Regions from separate parts of the Homo sapiens genome. Here region 1 is linked to region 2. The links are contacts of gene promoters, found by promoter capture Hi-C in human tissues and cell types (Jung and others, 2019). All regions are on one chromosome and are shown on one strand. Each heading gives the region's core, a stretch centred on a gene start or on the middle of the fragment in contact. The rest is flanking DNA. Distances are from core to core; before and after follow the strand shown.

Region 1 (3,229 bases), core at 591-3,090, 130 kb before region 2:
TTGCTGAAGATTGAATTTCATAGATTTTACATCTTGAAGCTTTGTCCCTGTGCATAATTCTGAAGATTTTCTATGTTGCAGATGTGGCTCAGGATTGAACACCATAAATTTTACACTTTGAAGGTCTGGCCATGGATTCAATTTATGAGATTTCTCATCTTGCTGCTGCTTTTCAGCATTGAACTCAGAAGGTGCCACACTATGAATCTTTGATTCCAAGGCCAACTTAGAGAGTTTTGCAACCTGCAATTCTGGGTCATGGTTGCCTTCTGTAGAGTTCACCGTCTGAAGCTTTATCAACCCAGATTTCATATCTTCCAACTTTGCCCCAGGATTATATTCTACAGATTTCACACCCTGAAGGTGTATCCCTGGTGTCAACATAGATAATTTTCTATCTTGTAACTGTGAAGTTGAGCTTAACTCCAAAGATGTCCTATCCTGTACCTTTGTACCTACAGTCAATTCAGAAGATTTCACATCTTGCCGCATTGGCCTAGGCATGAGCACAGATTTCACTTTTTGAAGCTTTGTCGCTGGGATCACTTCAGAAGATTTCATACCTTGCAAGTGTGATCCAGAACTGAACTCCATAGATTTTACATCTTGAAGCTCTGTCCCCATTATTGAGTTAGAATATTTTGTATCTTGCCACTGTGGGCCCGAGTTGAACTCCACAGATTCCCCACCTTGAAGCTTTGTCTCTGGTGTTAACTCAGAAGATGTCACACCTTGTAACTTTAGACCATGGTGGAATTCTACAGATTTAACATCTTGATGGTTTGTTCCCTGAATCAACTCAGAAGATTTTTCGCTTTGTGTCTGTTGTCCAGAATTGAAATCCATTGATTTCATACTTTGAAGCCTTGTCCCTGAGGTTACCTCAGAAGATTTTATACCTTGAAAGTGTTGTCCAGAACTGAACTTCATAGATTTTACATCTTGAAGCTTTATACCCATGATCAGATCAGAAGATTTTATATCTTGTAACTGTGGGCCTGATTCCAGCTCTACAGATTTCACACCTGGAAACTTCCTCCCCAGGGTCAAATCAGATTTCTCACTTTGTAACTTTGGACTAGGTTTGAATTCTACCGATTTCACACCCTGAAGCTTTCCCCCTGGAATCACTTCAGAAGATTTCACAGTCTGTAAGTGTGGTCCAGAACTGAAATCCATAGATTTAATGTCTTGACACTTTATACCAATGATCAACCTAGAAGATTTCAAATCTTGCAACCGTGGGCCTGAGTTGCATTCCATTAATTTCACTTCTTGAAGCTTTGTCTTCGGTATCGACTCAGAAGATTTCACTCCTTGCAACTGTGGCCCAGGTTTGAAGTCTGTAGATTTGACACCTTGAATCTTGGTCCTTGTGGTCAAATCATAATATGGGATATCTTTCAATTGTGAACTGGGGTTTAACTCTCTAAACTTCATGTCTTGGGACTTTGTCTTAGGGTTCAACTTAGAAGATTTGACACATTGCCATTGTGGCCCAGAGTTGAACTCCTCAGATTTCATACCTGGAAGTTCTGTCTGATGAGCCAATTCAGATGATTTCTTGCTTTTCAAGTGTAGTAAGGAGTTCAGCGCTACAGTTTTATCACTTTGTAATGGTAGCTCTTGGCTTAATACTCCAGATTTCACCCCTGAAAACTGTGGCACTTGTGTAAACGCTGGAGACTTCACATCTTGCAGCTGTGTTCCTGGGCATGCCTCCAAGGGTTTCACTTTGTGCAGCTGTGGTCTTGGGGTCAACTCAGAAGATTTCACATCTTGCGAGTGAAGCCCAGGTTTGAATGCCATAGATTTTATATCACAGAGCTTTGATGTTGAAATTGGGCCACATGATTTCACAGTTCTCAACTGTAGCCCAGATTTCAAAGCAATAGGTTTGAGCCCTGGCAACTGATGTTCCTGGAGTGATGTCAAAGGTTGTATACTTTGGAGCTTTGGCCTTGGAGTCAACTCAGATGACTTCACATTTCTTAATTGTACTGAAGGTTTCAATTCTACAGTTGTGACAACTCGAGATTGTGAACCACATTTTAGCACAGATTTCACACCTTGGAACTCAGGTCCTGGTATCCACTGCACAGAGTTCACACTTCCAAGCTGTGAGTCTTTGTTTGACTCCACATCTTTTACACCTTGAAGCTGTGGCTCTGAGGTTGACGCCAGAATTTTCCCTTTCTGCAACTGTGGTCCTCGGGACATCTTAGGAGTTTTCACACATTGCAACTGTGGCCCAAAGTTAAACTCCACAGGTTTTGCACCTTGAAGTTTTGGCCCTAGAGTCAATTCAGATGATTTTACACCTCCCGACTCTGTGGAGGATTTCAACTCTGCAGGCTTGACACCTCGAGATTGTGAACCAAGATTCAACCCTACAGTTTTTACACCTTGGAACTCAGGTCCTGATATCCACTGCACAGATTTCGCATTTCCAAGCTGTGAGTCTTGGTTTAGCTCTACAGTTTTCACACCTTGAAAATATGGCTCTGAGGTCGATGCTGGAATTTTCCCTTTTTGCAGCTGTGGTCCTTGGGACAACTCAGGAGCTTTCACAAAGTGCAACTGTGACCCAAGGTTAAACTCCATAGATGTTACACTTTGAAGTTTTGGCCCTAGAGTCAGTTGAGATGACTTTACACCTCCTGACTCTATGGAAGATTTCGACTCTCCAGGTTTGACACCTTGAGATTGTGAACCAAGATTTAACCCTATAGTTTTTACACCTTGGAACTCAGGTCCTGGTATCCACTGCACAGATTTCACACTTGTAAGCTGTGAGTCTTGGTTTAACTCCACAGTTTTCACACCTTGAAGTTGTGGCTCTGAGGTGGATGCTAGCATTTTCCCTTTTTGCAGCTGTGGTCCTGAAGACAACTCAGAGGTTTTTACACACTGCAACTGTGGCCCACGGTTAAACTCCATAGGTTTTGCACCTTGAAGTTTTGGCTCTAGAACCAATTTAGATGCTATCATATCTCCCAACTGTATGGAAAGTTTCAATTCTGCAGGTTTGACACTTCGAGATTGTGACCCAAGATTTAACCCTACAGATTTTAGACCTTGGAACTCAGGTCTTGTTATCCACTGAACAGATTTCATTCTTCCAAGCTCTAGCTCTTTGTTTAACTCCACAATTTTCACACTTTGAATCTGTGGCTCTACAGTCGAGCCCAAGGGTTTCACTTGGTGCAACTGTGGTCCTGGGGTCAAC
Region 2 (3,671 bases), core at 1,032-3,531:
CAAACAAAAAACCCACATACACACTAGAAAGATGGGTGGGATTACAGGAAGGCAGATGCAGACCCTGAAGCCTGCGATGGAGCTGATTTTGTATTTCCAGCATTAACAAGTTCCTCTCATGTTCTTCCATTTGCTCACAGACCTCCCACAGCCCAGTGTGCCAGGACGTGCTGAAATTCATCAGTCAGTGGTGTGGAGGGCTCCCCAGCACCAGCTTTTCCTTTCAGTAGTTGGTAGAGCTGAGGAAGAGTTAGGGCCTCTCCCTCATTAAAGTTTTATAAATAATTGAGACCACTGTATTCTTTGATCAAAGTCATTCCCAACACCACACAGTGCCTTTTCCCCAAAAGGAATCATAATCAAGTAGAAGAAAAGAGAAGTTACTTTATTACAATTTGTTATCTCATCCCGAGGTCAGGGCCCCTTGCTTAGTGGGAAAAAAAACCCTTTAGGACTGAGTCTCGGAACAGCACCTGCTGGACAGAGGGGAGAACCAACCCAGGTCAGAGGGGAAAGCAGCATGGCAAGACCTAGACCCAGTTCTAAGAGCACTTCCTTGTCCCCGCTCTTACCCGGGCCACCACCTTCAAGGCCCATTACCTGTCCTAAACCCAACTTCTCTGTGATGCCCGGATTTCTTGATTTTGATCCAGTAGCTGCTCATTTTCCTGCCTTTTACATTTAGGAGATTCAAGCTCTGTCATTTCCTCTAGCTGCAGAAGAAGATAGAGTTAGACACCCTCGCCCTGAATGATAGGTCAGCATCTTTTTTTTGTTTTGTTTTTTGTGACGGAGCCTCACTCTGTTGCCCAGGCTGGAGTGCAGTGGCGTGATCTCGGTTCACTGCAACCTCCGCCTTCCGGGTTCAAGCGATTCTCCTGCCTCAGCCTTCCAAGTAGCTGGGATTACAGGCGCCCACCACCCCACCTAATTTTTTGTATTTTTAGTAGAGACGAGGTTTCACCATGTTGTCCAAGCTGGTCTCAAACTCCTGACCTCAAGTGATCCGCCTGCCTCAGCCTCCCAAAGTGCTGGGATTACAGGTGTGAGCCTCCGCACCCGGCCGGTCAGCATCTTTTCAACACAGCCAGTCTCTGTGGAATGAACCCTTCCTGTTTGCCTTCCTTACCTGCCCCTGAAGTCCGTCCTTCCTGCAGGGCCCAACTCCACGTAGAGTGAGTGCAGCCACACAGCAGTAACCAGATAGAGCAGCCTCCCCTGCAGACATGAGCAAAGAAGGGATCCAGAGAGCCAAGGCTGTATCCTGAAAAGCAAGAAGGATGGGGAGTAGGAGGGAGTAGGGCAAGTGCAGCAAATAGGGGAAATTAAAAGGGCAGGACCAAGGCTTTGTAGACCACAAGAAGGAAGAGAATGTGCTCACATAGATTCTTGTGGGGTCAAAGGGGCAGTCAGTATGTCCCGGCCCCTCATCCAGTGGTACCAGAGGATCCAGCAGTCCTGGGTGGCAGTCAGCAATAAGGCGGCGGCCACCGTTGGCCACAGTGAGTGACACAGCAAGAAGGAGGCCCAGGGAGCAGGCAACGGACAAGAGCAGGTTCACCAGAGCTAGTGCCAGCAGGACCCAGTGCTGGCAGGGACAGGAGATCAGGGTGAGCAGCCTGGGCCTGGCTAACTCTCCCAGTGACTAGACACCCAGTTTCTCTGAGGCTCCTCCAATCTATTGAAAGACCAAGCTCAGTCAGCCCCCATTTCCCTGACTCAAGCCTACTCGTTAAAAGCTCCAGGGAAGTCCCTCTCACCAGTGGAGGGCGAAGAAGGTTCCTGGACGCCAGGAGGGCCACAAGTCCCACGGAAACGCTCTGTGGAAGACACAAAGCCTTTGGCCTGCTGGGCTCTCCGGGAGCCCGGCCCCCGCCCGGGTCGCCTGCCGCGCTCACCAGCAGCCCCGAGCCGACAGAGATGACATTGGCTACGGTGTACTCCGGCGTGACAGCGCCGCGGGGATTGGCCACGTGCCGCAGGACGGTGCCATGCAGCACGGCCCCCAGCAGCAGGTTCACGTGGCCCACCAAGATCAGCGCGAGGCCCACACGCATCAGCCGCCTGGGCCCCCGGGCGGCGTCTGCAAAGCACGGGGGAGGGCAGGGTTGAGTCGGGCGGGGAGGGGAGAGGCGGCTCGCGGCGGGTTAACCGCGGGCAGTAGGACGGGGCAAGGGTAGCCCCAGGGTAAGGAGACGAGACGCCAGGGCCCGGAAGTTACCGAAAGCGCAGAGACTGCAGCGCCTCATCCCGTCCGCCGCGCCAGCCGCAGGGCCGCTGTACCTGGGCCCGGCCCCGCCCCAACCTGGGCCCCGCCTCCGTCCCGGGTCCCCCTCCCACCTGGGCCCCGCCTCCGCCCCGGGCCCGCTCCCCCTGGCGGGAAAGGCGCGAACACACGACGCTTTTAGCAAAAAGTAGACTTTTATTACAGCAGCAACTGAGGCGAATCGAATGGCCCCCCAGGGCCACCACTGCAGCACCACCTTTCTCTCCCGCCCCGGCCGCCCCAGCGGGATTGTAGAATTCGGCTCCCCTAGTGCCCGTGGGCCTCCTTTCCACACAGGCTGGGCGGGAGCCGGCAGATCAGCGACTAGCCCCCAACTAGAAGGCGGCTGCTGAGAAGGCCCAGGCCCACGTCTGTGCAAAACAAGTAAACAAAGTGCAGAGGGGAGGAAGAGAGGGGAGGGGAAAGGATGATGCTCAGAACCAGGGAGCCCCCCCAGCCCTCCTGAATAATAAAGGAGGGAAGGGGCTTCACAGGGTAATACTGACTGGGGGGAAGGGACAGGAGGGCTGCAGCACGTCCAGGGACAGCCACAGCGCAGATCAGGGCCTGGCCCGAGTGAGCTCTAAGAGGAGACGGTGACAGCGGCTGAGTTGAGGGTACTGTTCCTGGCAAAATTGAACTTGTTCAAGGTCTCTTCTAGCAGAGAAGTCAACCGGCTCTGGTCAGCCTGGGGGAGAAGAGCTCAGTAAGATGGGGGCTGAGAGAAGAGAAGGCATGGGGGCAGCCAGGGCAGATGAAGGCAGAAACCTCACCTCACTAATGAAGCCCAGCTGCACCAGCTCAGCCGCCAACTCGGGGATATTCTCATCTGACAAAGAAACAGGAGGGGGTGAGTACAGTACGGGACTGAGGGACCTGGGGCCCTTCAGACAGCCCCACTAGGGCTAAACTGTCAGTCAGATCCACCCACTGCTTTAGGGTCTAAGATAGTCATTCTATGTGAGTCAATGTGTTACTGCCTTGTCACCTCCCCCACCCCTGAATATGTCCCTAAAAGATAAGGCTCATAGACTCTCCATCCTCTGAGGGAAAGGAGAGACTCACTTGGCATCAGGTCACAGCTCAGGTGCCGGTTCAGTTTGTCCTCCAACTTCAGCAGAAGTGTCAGCTGGAGAATAGGACAGTCAGAAAATGAGACTTTTCTTCCCTACCCTCTGGCTACTAGCCCTGCGCAACCCTAGCCCTGAGCCTTACGTGGTGTTTGACTCCCTCCTCCACCGACTCAATGTTGCACTGCATCAGCACCACCTAGGGAGGGAAGAGAGGGTCACTCTAGAGACCTGTCCATAAAAAACCCAATACCTAGACGTCTTTCGAGCCCATAGGGCATGGCTGCTAGGGAGCATTTTCTCTAAAGGATAGAGCCTTATTTGAGATGTCCTCT

Evidence for each region. Contacts are between HindIII fragments. The study calls those that stand out against the background at their distance.
Region 1: a fragment that was not itself captured here is called in contact with the fragment with the promoter of KRTCAP3 in region 2 in 6 of the 25 tissues and cell types used here (H1 embryonic stem cells, IMR-90 fibroblasts, bladder and 3 more).

The regions. Positions count from the first base shown.
Region 1 is chr2:27,572,216-27,575,444 of GRCh38, reverse strand. SPATA31H1 (SPATA31 subfamily H member 1) reads right to left here. Exons shown (of 5, transcript NM_032266.5): 5 at 1-3,229. Among named protein-coding and RNA genes, the nearest start is that of ZNF512, 9.2 kb to the left of the region's middle. The HindIII fragment of the contact is 4,221 bases long and covers 1-3,229 here.
Region 2 is chr2:27,440,991-27,444,661 of GRCh38, reverse strand. It overlaps KRTCAP3 (keratinocyte associated protein 3), which reads right to left and starts at 2,281. Exons shown (of 7, transcript NM_173853.4): 1 at 2,222-2,281; 2 at 1,899-2,083; 3 at 1,761-1,820; 4 at 1,382-1,588; 5 at 1,130-1,264; 6 at 601-713; 7 at 365-476. The coding sequence starts at 2,249. The coding sequence ends at 606. It overlaps NRBP1 (nuclear receptor binding protein 1), which reads right to left. Exons shown (of 18, transcript NM_013392.4): 15 at 3,482-3,535; 16 at 3,332-3,395; 17 at 3,040-3,095; 18 at 2,403-2,954. The coding sequence ends at 2,850. It overlaps IFT172 (intraflagellar transport 172), which reads left to right. Exons shown (of 48, transcript NM_015662.3): 48 at 141-285. The coding sequence ends at 230. RefSeq lists an enhancer at 1,604-2,146. The HindIII fragment of the contact is 11,668 bases long and covers 1-3,671 here.